Linked DNA regions of Homo sapiens: all the other regions are linked to region 3. The links are contacts of gene promoters, found by promoter capture Hi-C in blood cells and fetal thymus (Javierre and others, 2016). All regions are on one chromosome and are shown on one strand. The core of a region is centred on a gene start or on the middle of the fragment in contact, and the rest is flanking DNA. Distances in the headings are between cores, read along the strand shown. Region 1 overlaps MCPH1-AS1 (MCPH1 antisense RNA 1). Region 2 overlaps AGPAT5 (1-acylglycerol-3-phosphate O-acyltransferase 5). Region 3 holds the start of MCPH1 (microcephalin 1). Region 4 overlaps MCPH1-AS1 (MCPH1 antisense RNA 1). Region 5 overlaps AGPAT5 (1-acylglycerol-3-phosphate O-acyltransferase 5).

Region 1 (2,700 bases), core at 154-2,653, 280 kb before region 3:
TACTGTATGTCTTATAAGTTCCAAATAATTAATTCTCATAGAGCATTTTTGTTAATTTTTGCAGTAATCTTGTAGCCAACCTCTGGTTTCAATTGTCAAGTGAATACAGTTCCAGCATGAATGTTGATTGCTGCATTTATTTATGTTTATGAGGAAGACCAAAGTAAAATGGCTACAAAGATGTATATTAAAACCTCACCCATTTGTTTCCTGAATTGATTGATGCTTTTCTGGAAGAATATTTCCTCAAATTTTTGTGCTATTCATAATGTGGCAGTTATAGACATAATACAGTTTTTGTTTGTTTGTTTGAGATGGAGTCTCGCTCTGCCGCCAGGCTGGAGTGTAGTGGCACGATATCAGCTCACTGCAACCTCCACCTCCCAAGTTCTAGTGATTCTTCTGCCTCACCCTCCCAAGTAGCTAGGATTACAGGCATGCGCCACCATGCCCAGCTAATTTTTGTATTTTTAGTAGAGATGGGATTTCACCATGTTGGCAAGGATGGTCTCAATCTCTTGACCTCATGATCCGCCTGCCTTGGCCTCCCAAAGTCCTGGCATTACAGGCATGAGCCACCGCACCCTGCCATAATACACTTTTAAGTTTAATCCACGGTAACATTTTTCTCTATCATTTTCTTAAGTCCAGAGAAACAAGAAAACAATCAAGCTCTGGTTTATAGAGCTTGCTAGTTTCCCTGGTGTAAATACTCATACCATGGCTGAACATGGAGGTGGGAAGAGATGCACAGTAGCGTACCGTGACATGGTATTTCCACTGTGCAGACCCAGTGCATGCAAATAACCTCAAGAAGAGATAGTAGTAAAATAGTTACACATATTTGAATATTATTTGTTTAAATGTTTGTAATTATAAGCTTATATAATGTAATTCTTAATAATGGCTCACAGAACTCCTGAAAATTTATTGCCTCTTGTGAGGCAATACTCACAGGCTCTAGCACTGCCCTGGGTTATCAGTAATGAACCTACACTACATTTAGCCTATTATTTCAGTTAGCTGCATTAGGGGCTTAAAACAACAACTTATGGTTTCTCAAGATTCTGTGATTTGACTGGGCTCAGCTGGATGGTCGTTCTGCTGGACATGGTGCCAGTGGGAGTCACAACGCTGTTGCCTTCATCTGGAAGCTCAGCTGGGACTGGGACACCCACCTGGCTTCACACAGACATCTGCACTTCAGCTGGGGGCTGGCTGAGTCTCTTCCCTCCAGCAGGACAGCCAAACTTCTTACCTGATGACTCTAGGCTTCAAGTGAGGGAGTGTGGAAGCTGTGAGGTCTCTCAGGAGCTGGTCCTGTAAAAGGCATGTGTGCACTGCATCATATCCTATAGGTTGGAGCAAGTCTCAGGGCCAACCAGATACAAATGAAAGGGAAATAGATTCCACCTCTTGATGGGGAGAGTGGCAAGTGTGTGCAGCAATTAGAGGAATTGTTGGCAGTCATCTTTGAAGACAACCTACCACCCTTATCTATGTAGTTTATCTTCTGTCTTCCACATTAGCATATAAACCACATGAGGGCAAGGAGTTTTATCTGTTTTGTTCACTGCTGTGTCCCTGACACCCAGGACTGTGCTTGGCACACAGAAGACACTAAGTATAATATTAGATGAATATATCAGTGTCAAACTATTTTCTTAATTCTCTGGTTTCTTCTAGTTCTTGCCCATATATATGTATATAGTTGGATAATTGCTCCAGATAATTGCTTTTAATGACATGAATGTTGGTATAACGGTAGTAAGATCACGATAAGATCTGTGGCTCTTTCAAGGTTGGGATTTTGTTTTTAATTAGGATAAGTTTTCCTCCGCTAAGCGAATGGCTTGTCTTTTTTTCTTTTGGACACGGATTTGTTCAACTGATCCTCTGCTGTCATGTTGGATGCAAGAAAGCTTGCTCAATTTTCAGATTTTAGATCTTCAAAGCATACATTTTGCTTTTTATTCCACTTCCGTCCCTAGTATAGGTTCTAGCGTGCCATTCCCTTTGTCTCATCTTTTGCACTTATATCAAAAAACCATTTATTTATTTATTTATATTTTTATTTATTTATTTATTTTGAGACGGAGCCTCACCCTGTCACCCAGGCTGGAATGCAATGGCACGATCTCGGCTCACTGCAAACTCCGCCTCCCGGGTTCAAGCGATTCTCCTGCGTCAGCCTGCCAAGTAGCTGGGATTACAGGCACACGCCTCCACGCCCAGCTAATTTTTGTATTTTTAGTAGAGATGGGGTTTCACCATGTTGGCCAGGCTGATCTCGAACTCCTGACCTCGTGATCCACCCGCCTTAGCCTCCCAAAGTGCTGGGATAACAGGCATGAGCCACGGTGCCCGGCCCCAGAAAACCTTTTAAAGAATAAAAGACAAATTGACCTGAAGCTCTTGCCGTATTTAGTATAGTGATCTATGTGATTATATACATCTTGTAGAAGTTTAATCTCTCCTGTACCTGTTTTCCTGTGCCATTTATCCACACTTCTGCATAACAGTTAGTTTTTAAATTAATGTATTTTTGTGGCAAAATACATATAAATTAAAATTTACTATCATAACCAATTTTAAGTATACGGTTCAGTAGCACTAAGCACATTGATGTTGTTGTACCATCAACCTCCTTCATCTTGCAAAACTGATACCCTGCACCCACTAAACAACAACCCCTGACTC
Region 2 (2,700 bases), core at 81-2,580, 330 kb before region 3:
AGTAATCAATTAGTCTAAGTTTTTACGCTTATCTGCTTAGGAAAGTAAAAACAGAAACATTAAAATTATACAGCAAAAACTCCTAGCTTGAGAACTGAGTTACAAAAACTACACTAATAACTTTGATTGACAGCCAAAAGACAAAAATAAGTTATGCACACCAAATCTTTTCAAATACAAACAGAATACAGGAAACAAGACAGGAGCTCATGGGAGAAAACTACGTTTATTGGATTCATTCTTGCCAGATCTCAGACAGTACTCAGACAACACTGTCTACCTCTGTACGTCTGGTACAGAAGCCTTCCTTCATCTGGATGACCTATGATCATACAGCTCCTACTTAAAAACCTATGTGGTACTGAATTTTTTCTTTAGATACTGGTATAATGGTATCTAAAAATTTCGTACTTTCAGCTTCCACGCAAATATGCAAGCTTTTTGTTCATTCATATAATAGTCTTCAGAACCCACACCTAACTTAGAAATTAACAGATAATATTATATGTATCTTTATATTTAATAATTTATATTATTTTTAATAATTAATATTATTATTAAACAATAATTTATATGTATAATTATATTTAATAATGAAGATTCACCAGATCTGTTAAGAAAATGTAGAAAAGTGGGTACAATTAGGAAAAACATACAAAATTCCTTATTATATTATAGCAACTAGAAGGAAAAACAGGAAGACAAACATTAAAGCTAGTTCCAAACACCACACATTCATTTTCATGAAAATGTGTTTTGTAACAGTAAGGTTTATATTCAAAGCCATGAAAGCAATTACTGTGGGCTATCAGCTTTCAACTCAGTCATTTATAAATAAAACGATTATTTCTCAGGTTAATAACTCATGTGGTATTATTTGCTGTCTTAGATGTTTAATTTAAAAGAACATTGACAGACAGCAGGAAGGCATGAATTCATTCACAGCTAATTCAGAAACTATTTCTTATATACTTATTATGTTCCAGGAACTGCACAAAGGATAACAACACATATGGTCCTTCCCTTCATGGACAAGTGAGGAAAAGAAATACATTAAACAGATAAATAAAAACATGTCGTTACATATCATGATATGATTGCAAAGAAAAAGAACAAGGTGTGATGAAGGAAAATGATGAGAAAAAATTTAGGAAGGGCAATGGGGCTAGGAACTAAAGAATGGATAAAAGAATGAGTGCTTTTCCCTAAAGATGAGGAATATGGAAAGGATTTCCCTCACACCAGTTCTAGTCAAGGCTGTACTAGGAGGTCTAGCCAGAAAATTTAGCAAGAAAAAGAAATAAAAGCCATCAAGATTAAAAAGGACAAAGTAAAACTGTTATTTCTATAACAATGACATGATTGTTTATGTAGGAAATCCTAAGGAATATATTTTGTAAGTTACTAGATGATAAATAAGTTTAGCAAGGTTAGTATATTAAAAAGTCAAATATATGCCTAGGTCAACAAACAAAAACTTGAAATTTTTTTAAATGTCATCTACAATAGTATCAAAAACTGAAATTCTTAGGGATATATCTGGCAAAAGATGTGCAAATCTGTACATTAAACTACAAAACACACTGAGATAAATAAAGAAGACCTAAGTAAACAAATGCAGGCTACGTTCATGAATCCAAAGATTCAATCCTGTTATATCAATTCTTCCCAAATTCATCTATATCTTCAATACAATCAAAATGAAAAGCCCACAAACTTTGGGTAGAAATTGTCGAGCTAATTCTATAATTCACACAGAAATGCAAAAAACCTAAAATAGCCAAAACAACTTTGAAAAGAAAGAACAAATTTAGAAGACAACTACACTATTTAAAAACTTACTGCAAAGCAAGCATTATTAAGACAGTATGGTATTGGCATAAGGATATATATATATAGATCAATATAACAGAACAAATGCTCCATTGATCTAGGGATAACAGACCCATCTATATTCAGTCTACTTATTTCAAACATTGGGGGGAAATAATCTTTTCTATAGTGATGGTTACCTATATTAAAAAAATATGAACTTCGATCTTACACCATATGAAAACATTAATTATAAATAAATCCTAGAACTAAATGTAAAAGCAAAACTCTAAAATTTCCAGAAGAAAACAAAGGAGAAAATCTTAGCAACCTTAAGTTTGGCAAGGACTTCTTAAATAGGATACAAAAAGTGGAAATTATGAGAGAAAAAAAATCAATAAATTAAGCTTAAAAGTATGTTCTTCAAAAGATACATATAAATGTATAAAAATAAAAAAACACACGTACTCAAAAAAGATACTATTCACAAATAGGAAAAGGTAAGTAACAGATGCAAAAAACTTGTACAGGAACATTCTTAGGAGTGACAGGCTCATCTCATTTTATCATGCTTCGCTTTACTGAGCTTCACGGAAATTGCATTTTTTTCCCATTGAAGGTTTATGACAACCCTGCATCGAGCAAGTCTATTGGTGCCATTTTTCCAACAGTATGTGCTCACCTCACGTCTCTGTGTCATATTTCGGTAATCTCACAATATTTCATATTATTATATCTGTTATTGTGATCTGTGATCTCTGATGTTACTATTGTAATTGTTTGGGGGTGCCATGAATTGCACCCATATAAGATGACAAATTTAATTGATAAATGTCGTGTGTGTTCTGACTGCTCCAATGATGGCCTGTTCTCCTGTCTCTCTTTCTC
Region 3 (2,700 bases), core at 1-2,500:
CTTAAAAATGTAAAAGACATTCTTAGCTCGTAGACCCTTACAAAAACAGGCAGCAGGCTAGATATGGCCTGGGGGGCATAGTGAGTGGACCCCTGTTCTAGTGGATATCCTCTTCTCAAAACCTGATGTTTAAAAGCATTTTCCAGGTGTGCCGTTGGTCAATGATTGGGGGTAACGCTAAAAGAAAACCAGGTTAATTTAACAAAATACTAACATTAGAAAAATAGCCACATCTGATTACAGACTTTGTATAAAGCCTCTAGTCTTTACTTTTGGCTATGAGGTTTTATGACTCCAGGCCCCACAATACAGGCCCCTTTTTTCTCACGGTCAAACTCTACAAGACACGTGTCCGCTATTCCCCTCTCCTGGGCTCTTCCAGGTGCACAGAGGGTGGGACTGCGTGCGGTATCATATACTGGTTAGGACAGCAGCTCCGGTCTAAGGCCCTGTCAGCACTGACTAGCCACACACAGGGAGAGTCACCTAAACGTCCGATGCCTTAGTTTCTGCCTGTAAAATGATATAAGAGAGTTGATAGAGCGGTTAAAAAAATCAGACAATACCATACTAGCCTAAGCACAGCGCCTGGCACACAAAGACTCCGCAGTAAAAGGCGGCTCCTATTATTGGAACAATTAGCATAGAAACTCAACTGCCGCTCCTCCAGGTGGGCCTCAGAGGGGGTCGAACAGGACCAGACCCAGGAGGGCCCCACACCAACTTCCGGAGGGCAGGACTCTGCCTGCCAGTGAGCCCCAGATCCAGGGACTAAGGCAGCAGGGGTGAAAGCAGGTAGGGGGAAAGGCGGGATTTGGGGGACAGGCAGCATGGGGGAGGGAGCAGGCAGCGGGGGATTGAGGGGAACTAGCAGCACGGGGGTTGGGGCACAAGCAGTACGGGGGAGGAAGCAGGCAGTCGGGGGTTTGGGGGGACAGGGAGCACGGGAGACGAAGCAGGCAGCCGGGGGTTTTGGGGGGACAGGCAGCGGGGGAGAGAGCAGGAGCAGGGGGTTTTGGTGGGACAGGCAGCGGGGGAGGAAGGAGGCGGCAGGGGGTCTGGGGGAGACAGGCAGCGAGGGAGGGGCGAGCGGGGCTCCTCCCACGGGATCCCCCGAGTGCGCCCGCGACGAGGGGTGCCGGTCCTCAAACTCCCGCTGCTGGAGCAGGCAGCAGGAAGTACCTCACCTTTCAGGATGGGGGCCGCCATGACAGACGGCGGGATCCGGCCAGCTGGCCTACGCGGTGCTTGCGAGCCTGGCGGCGCGCGCGGGCACTGGGCATGCGCGGGGTGAGCGCGCCGCCGTCACCGCGCTCCGCTGAATCCGCGTTTCCGGGATTTCTCTGTAGGTGAGGCGGGAGGCTGGAGGGAGCTGAGCCCCCGGGGAGGGGGCCCGATTCCGCCTCGCCGCGCCTCTGGCTGCTGGGCCGTGGGTTTTTCTCTTCTCCTGGGAGTAAGGAGGACGACGGCCCCTAACCCCTGAATTAGCCTTCTATTTCCATTAGTGACTTAGAAGCTACCCGGCGCCTCATCTGGGCTCACCTGAGCTGAGGATCAGGAAGGGGAGGGGGCACAGTCATTCCCTCGCGGACGCGGCGGGACCCCAGCGGACGGCTTTGTGCGGACTTTCGGCACCGTTATGCCCCCCTAGCCCGACACCACCTGGGGCTGGCGCGCCACGTTACTGTTCAGGGCCAGACGCACCGCCCTGCCTGCTCCGGGGAGCCGGACCTCCGATCCCGGGGATGGGGGACCCCGAGACCTCAGACCCAACGGAGGGGACTCTGATACCTCAGACCCCACGCGGGGACCCCGAGGCTTCAGACCCCCACAGGGTGACCCCGAGATCTCAGACCCCCGCAGGAGTACCTCCAGACCTCAAATCCCCAGTAAGGGAATGAAAGAGACTTCGGATCCCTGAGGCAGCAAATCCCTGTAGGGGCATCCCAGGACTCAGGTCACCGCGGGGTGAACCCAGACCTCACATTCAGGCAATCCCCAGGACGCCGATCGGCTGGCACTACCCACTGTCCCGGCCACCCCCCCTGGAGCTCAAAGGCTTGGCCCTCCAGCTGCTCCACCCTGCCGGCAACCAGGCTCAAACCTGCAGCCCGCGGATCCCCTGCCCCGGAAGCAACCAGATTCGCGGGAGGTTACCTGACTGATCCAAGGTGATACAGCTGGTAACTGATGGAGATGTTGGTAGTGAAATTCATGTACTTTTAGTTCTTTCTATGGAATCTAGAGGTAGAATACATGTAAAAGAATATCGACTACCGTCTACTCAGGTCTCTGTTTTATCTGTTTATTCATTCACTCTCAGCTTTTAATAGGATCCAATGAGCCCTCTGTGGTTCTGAAGAATTGCCTTGAGTATATGCAGCCTCAAAAAACCCACTTCCTAGGCTCAGTCTTTGATCAATATTTATCATTATCACCAGTTATTGTTCTAATAAACTCTACTCTGGAAATATGGTGTTATGGTTTACTTGGGAGTGTGAGTTCAGGGCATCATTGAAGACTCACGTACTTTTACTGAGAAAGTGACATTGATCTCTGTAGATTTTGAATTAAATGATATGATGAAGTATATAAACCAATTACTTTTGGTCAAGGTGGTAAAAAAAGTTTAGTATTTGATAGATTCTTCATCTCCACGATCACAAATATTTTCTCCTAGGATTTCTTCTAGAAATATTA
Region 4 (2,700 bases), core at 173-2,672, 260 kb before region 3:
TTTACATGTCATGTGTGGCTGCTTTTACCTTATAACCGCAGGGCCGAGTAGTAGCAGCAAGACCGTCTGGACTTCAAAGCCTACGATGTTTACTATCTGGTTCATAACAGAGGGATTTGTTGGCCTGGTGTGGACCTTCTTTTTCTCTTGTCTCTGTCATGCCTGTCTTGATTGATTTTGATTCTACTCCCAGGAATTTCTCCTCGGGGTAGGGCCCTGGCCCAGACAGGCACTCAGATGGGTCAGTTTTGAGAGTTCATGGGAGATAGAGAGCTCCAGACTCTTGGGCCCTTCCAGCTGTGGGTCCCTTGCTCTCGATTATATGCAGTTGCATTGGGCAAAACCCAAGCGCTTTCGTCCAGTTGGCCCTGCTGGGCTTCCTGGTAATACAGAGCAAAAGATGGAGAATAACCTTGAGCTGTGTGGTATTCTGCTGTTCCCAGAGCTGTCTGCTGCTGCCTGGAGTTTCCTTCTTCCACCCATGCAGAACCTGGAACCTCATGGGGCTCGTGGCTGGCAGTAATTTGCCCCTTGTAAGGAGCTCATAAGGTGCCCTTGGCTTAGGTTTGCTACCCAGGCCATCTATTTTTATGTGGGGACCTAAAACGTTTTAAACAATATTAAATTCTAAGTTTAAAAAATTTTTTCTGTAAGTTCTATCTGCCTCCTTTTCAATTCCATCTTATCATTCTTGTTCCGTTCTCATGGTTTTCCGTCCTTTTATTTCTTTTAACATGTATCATCCGTATCTGATGACGCCAACACCTGAAGTCTTGGTCTATCTGGTCCTGTTATTTTTCCTAATGATTGTCTTGATGATTTATTTGGAATTGTGTGTGTGCACGCATTCTAATTGATGGTCATATTGGTGGGAATCATCAGAAGCCCAGGTTCAGGGACATTATTCCTGGAAGTTGTGTGTCTGCTTCTTCCAGGTGCCTAAGGATGTTGCTGACAAAGGATGTTGCTTTGTGTTTGCCTTTGTGCAGATGTTATCCTTCTCCCTTCTTAACTTTCTTCCTGGGAGTCTAACCCTTCCAGAGTGTCAGCTTTATCAGGTTGGTCTCCATTCCAACTCCCCTGTCCCGGCCCACCTCCCATACACACACACATGAATGCACATATACACACATGCACACACACGCAGATGCACACACGCCCTGTGTATACACAATGCTCGGTCAACATGATGTTCCCCAGCTTGGATGTCAACCTGCTTCTCCACCTTGTCTCCAGTGGTAGAGCGTTTCTCTACCTTTCTTGCAAATTCCCTACCATTCACTCTGCATTTTCAGGGGTCCATTATAATGTTCATTATATTGCTGCAAACATAAGTCACTGATTTACTTTCTTGGATAACACAAATGGCTCAGTTTAGAAGTCTGATGATTACATTCTAGAATGTTTAATATGCCTAAAATGTGGTTATAAAGTGGTGGGCTTTGCCTTTAATTGGCCCTCCAACATTTCTCTGTTGAACACCTTTAGCAACAAGAACTTGGCTTCTTTGTGTCCATGGAGGGCACGCTCTGGGCCGGCTGAAGCACCAAGCACCTTTTCCCTTTAGCTGAAGGAGCTGGTTCCCGTGAGGATGTGGATCCTCCCAAGACTGCTGACACTTTATGCCTGAGTCCAAGACTCATCCAGATTGACTCTGTCCCCCTGCTCCTCCTGCGTAGCCACTCAGGCAGCAAATAATTTCATTTCCAAAATTTCATTTCTAATCCACCTCCTCCTTTCCCTCTCTGTGAGCACTGTGTTCTGCGCCTTAACATTTCTTGTCTGGAAAATTTCAATAGCCTTTCTTAACTACCCAACGCTTATATCTCACTTGCGTCCCCTCAACGTGCCCTTCCACTGGAAGTTCCAGCAATCCTGAGGCCCTCAGACCTCCCCTCACCTTCGGGACTGGCACGGGCCTCTCCCTTGGTCTCTTTTCCACTCGGAACTCCTATGCTTCCTTTGAAACCTATGTTAGAGAGTCAGGCATGGTGGCATGCACCTGTAGTTGCAGCCACTCAGGAGGCTGAGGGAGGAGGATCGCTTGAGTGCAGGAATTCAGGGCTGCAGTGAGCTATGACCATGCCTCTGAATAGCCACTGCACTGCAGCCTGTGCAACGCAGTGAGACCCCACCTAAAAAAAAAGAAAACTCACCTAAGTTAGATGTCAGTTTCTTCTGGAAGTATTTCCCAAGCTCTTTTCCTTTCCGTTTAAAAGCAATCACCCTTTCTCAAAGTTGTCGCTCTCCCTGGTCTGCAGTGAACTTATCACACTGTGTTGTCATTTGTTTTCCAGCCTCATCCCCCTTCAAGGCTGTCAGCTCGCTGAGATAGGTGCTGTATCTTCATTATTTCTGGCCCTTGGAGCCTGTACAGTCATTGATACAGAAGAGCTGCCCAATAGAGTTCTTACAAATTTTGGCTATTTCTGTTTGGTGTGAATCAAACTCCAGCACTTGTTGGAAGGTGAGTGGAGGCAGGGAGAGGGCACCACAAGCCCTGTGAATCCAGGGTAGGAAAAGCAGGTGGAGATGAGGCCTTCAATAGATGAAGCTGCAAAGTTACTGCTTTGAACAGAAATGTGGAAAAGATCCTCATATCTTAAAAATAGTATCCCTTTGCTTCTGGTGACAGGCTAACTTCGGTGGGTCCATCAGCATTAGGGACCATGGGGGTCATTTCACCAAATCTCTTTGCTC
Region 5 (2,700 bases), core at 156-2,655, 360 kb before region 3:
ATTCATTCCAGGACACATCTCCCAGCTTCTACTTACATTTGCTAAACAGTTTGACACAGAAATTCTTTAGTTCTAGTTCTCTTCAACTGATATTTAATTTGAAAGTGTTCTTTAAGAATCCAAATACATTGGGCCAGGCGCGGTGGCTCGCGCCTGTAATCCCAGCACTTTGGGAGGCCAAGGCGGGTGGATCATCTGAGGTCAGGATTTCGAGACCAGCCTGGCCAACATGGCGAAACCCCGTCTCTACTAAAAATACAAAAAATTAGCCAGGTGTGGTGGAACACGCCTGTAATCCCAAATACTTGGGAGGCTGAGGCAGGATAATTGCTTGAACCAGGGAAATGGAGGTTGCAGTGAGCCGAGATTGAGCCACTGTACTCCAGTCTGGGCAACAGAGCAACACTCCGTCTTAAAAAAAAAAAAAAAAAAGAATCTAAATACATCAGTTCTCTGATCTAAGCCAGGTTCTTTCCTCATCTTTGTTTCCATTATATAAACAAATGATCTCTCACAGTAGTTACTGCTATTTTCCACTCTAGCCAATGATAAAACATGGGGATGGCAGCGGTGGGTGGGAATTCCGGCTTTTCTCCACCATCTTCTCTGCAATAAACTGAAAGACCTTATAAAAGATGGGTGCAGTTGAGGAAAAAGAATAAAGGTGGTCATGGGCAAATGAAAACTGGTTAATTGTCCGAAAACTATCAAGAACTGACCTGTGACCCAGACAGAAAGTAACTCTGCATGTCTCAACAGAGCACAGTATACACGAGCTTGAATAACCAGAAAGATGTTTAGCAACAAATCCTCCTCACAATCATGTGTTGAGTTCCAAAACACTTCAGAAAATAATGGACAATTACTTATTCACACATTTTAGACAGCAAATAAAACTGAATTGGTTTAGCAAGAATAATAATCTCTCACATTGGTGTTAAAATTATATAAGAATGTATTTTTATACCTAGAATCTCAAACTAGTGAGAGTCATTTCCCTGAACTCTTTGAAGTAAATACATATTCTCCCCTCTTTACAGGTAAGGGAAAGCTCAAACAGGAGAGGAATTTTTTTTTTTTTTTTTTTTTTAATACGGAGTCTCGCTCTTGTCGCCCAGGCTGGAGTGCAATGACGCCATCTTGGCTCACTGCAACCTCCGCCTGCAGGATTCAAATGATTCTCCTGCCTCATCCTCCCAAGTAGCTGGGATTACAGGTGCCTGCCACCACACGCCTGGCTAATTTTTGTATTTTTAGTAGAGACAGGGTTTCACCACGTTGGCCAGGCTGGTCTCAAACTCCTGACCTCAAGTGATCCACTTGCCTCGGCCTCCCAAACTGCTGGGATTACAGGCGTGAGCCACCGCGCCCGGCAGGAAATTTATTTAAAGTTATGCATGTAGTGACACAGCACCAACTCTTTTAGAGTCTGGGATTTACCTTGATAAGGTAACTGTTGGTACAAACTATCCAAAACCTGGCAGTATGCTTGCAGATGCATTACTTTTAGTGGTCAAGCTACGCTGTGGCATGGGGTTTGTGATGACAGTGAGATGAGATGATGCCCGCAAGAGGCTTAGTGCACTGCTTGTTTACTATCACTACAAACTGAACCTTTAAAATATGACGTAGTATTTAATAGCCGTATTTGGCAATACAACATATATACACAACATGTAAACTTTATCACATATACAAGAAATAACTTTTTATCACCAATTTTTGAGATGCATATTTTCCTTTATTGCTGAATTAATGAGGCACCAATAATCTCAAAAACACAAGTCAGACTTTATTCTGAAAATACCATAAAGAGACAAAAAGAGTTAGTCAAGTATTCTTGCCTGCTGGAGACACAGAATTTCAATAGCACCTTTTTTAAAAAAAGACATGAACATTTATAAAATTGCAGAACATATCTTACATATTCACATATAAAATCATGAACCAATAATAATCCGGATGGAAAAACTGATCTGTTTCATCAACATCAATAAACATTTTGTTGAGAGTTTGTTCCACATATTATACTTCCCTCAGTATATTAGAAGTACTTCAGCTTTCTATTTGAAGTGGTTTTCCTAAAAATAACCTTTTCCCCTGCTCAGGATAACCAGCTATTATTATAGTATACATATTATAATAACAAGGTATATGTCTTTGACCTCATATATGACTCCCCAGTTGCTACAGGAATAGATTTACTTTTCATACACAAATTGGAAAAGATGTCAAATATTGATGATAGTATCGAAGAGTTGTAGCTACTCTAAACTGAGTAAATTAGCGATTGTACAGACGAGCACTTCATAATAGTTGAAGGTTTTAAATTCAGTTAATTACATGAATATTTGACAAGTATGTGAATGTTGTAAATATTTTGACCAAAGTACTAATTTTGATTCTAATGATTGCATGTTACATAGTCTCTATATAATGTCAATTATACTAAGTGATAACGTAATTTCAAGTTCTTTAATCAAAAAGTGTGAGTTACTCGTAATGAAAACTGGCCCAAAAGGAGGGAGAAAAAATCTTGTTTATAAAGCAAGCCATGCAAAACTACAACGACATTGCATTGTAGCTTTCCACCAGATACGGAATATCTGCCAAGAAAATATTTCACTCAATCTTCAATCTAAACACTACTAAAAACAAATTAAGGTTAAAATTATTTTACTATGCGCTTGCAATTATACA

What was found. Contacts are between HindIII fragments. The CHiCAGO score rates a contact against its expected background, and 5 or more counts as called.
Region 1: a fragment that was not itself captured here is called in contact with the fragment with the promoter of MCPH1 in region 3 in 16 of 17 cell types (fetal thymus, total B cells, naive B cells and 13 more); the score reaches 23.9 in fetal thymus.
Region 2: a contact is called between a fragment that was not itself captured here and the fragment with the promoter of MCPH1 in region 3, in 12 of 17 cell types (activated CD4 T cells, total CD8 T cells, total CD4 T cells and 9 more). The highest score is 23.9, in activated CD4 T cells.
Region 4: a contact is called between a fragment that was not itself captured here and the fragment with the promoter of MCPH1 in region 3, in 8 of 17 cell types (total B cells, naive B cells, fetal thymus and 5 more). The highest score is 10.1, in total B cells.
Region 5: a contact is called between a fragment that was not itself captured here and the fragment with the promoter of MCPH1 in region 3, in 17 of 17 cell types (total CD4 T cells, fetal thymus, activated CD4 T cells and 14 more). The highest score is 31.4, in total CD4 T cells.

What each region holds. Positions count from the first base shown.
Region 1 is chr8:6,684,279-6,686,978 of GRCh38, reverse strand. The region is part of intron 1 of MCPH1-AS1 (MCPH1 antisense RNA 1); the gene reads left to right. Among named protein-coding and RNA genes, the nearest start is that of MCPH1-AS1, 23 kb to the left of the region's middle. The HindIII fragment of the contact is 1,042 bases long and covers 883-1,924 here.
Region 2 is chr8:6,738,345-6,741,044 of GRCh38, reverse strand. All of the region lies in intron 4 of AGPAT5 (1-acylglycerol-3-phosphate O-acyltransferase 5), which reads right to left. Among named protein-coding and RNA genes, the nearest start is that of MIR4659A, 5.5 kb to the left of the region's middle. The HindIII fragment of the contact is 1,782 bases long and covers 440-2,221 here.
Region 3 is chr8:6,405,177-6,407,876 of GRCh38, reverse strand. It overlaps MCPH1 (microcephalin 1), which reads right to left and starts at 1,250. Exons shown (of 14, transcript NM_024596.5): 1 at 1,188-1,250. The coding sequence starts at 1,209. It overlaps MCPH1-DT (MCPH1 divergent transcript), which reads left to right and starts at 1,329. Exons shown (of 2, transcript NR_040040.1): 1 at 1,329-2,171. RefSeq lists silencers at 989-1,168, 1,429-1,508. The HindIII fragment of the contact is 9,682 bases long and covers 1-2,700 here.
Region 4 is chr8:6,662,173-6,664,872 of GRCh38, reverse strand. The region is part of intron 1 of MCPH1-AS1 (MCPH1 antisense RNA 1); the gene reads left to right. Among named protein-coding and RNA genes, the nearest start is that of MIR8055, 41 kb to the right of the region's middle. RefSeq lists a silencer at 1-48. The HindIII fragment of the contact is 8,157 bases long and covers 1-2,700 here.
Region 5 is chr8:6,760,523-6,763,222 of GRCh38, reverse strand. AGPAT5 (1-acylglycerol-3-phosphate O-acyltransferase 5) reads right to left here. Exons shown (of 8, transcript NM_018361.5): 8 at 1,720-2,700. Among named protein-coding and RNA genes, the nearest start is that of MIR4659B, 17 kb to the right of the region's middle. The HindIII fragment of the contact is 3,469 bases long and covers 1-2,700 here.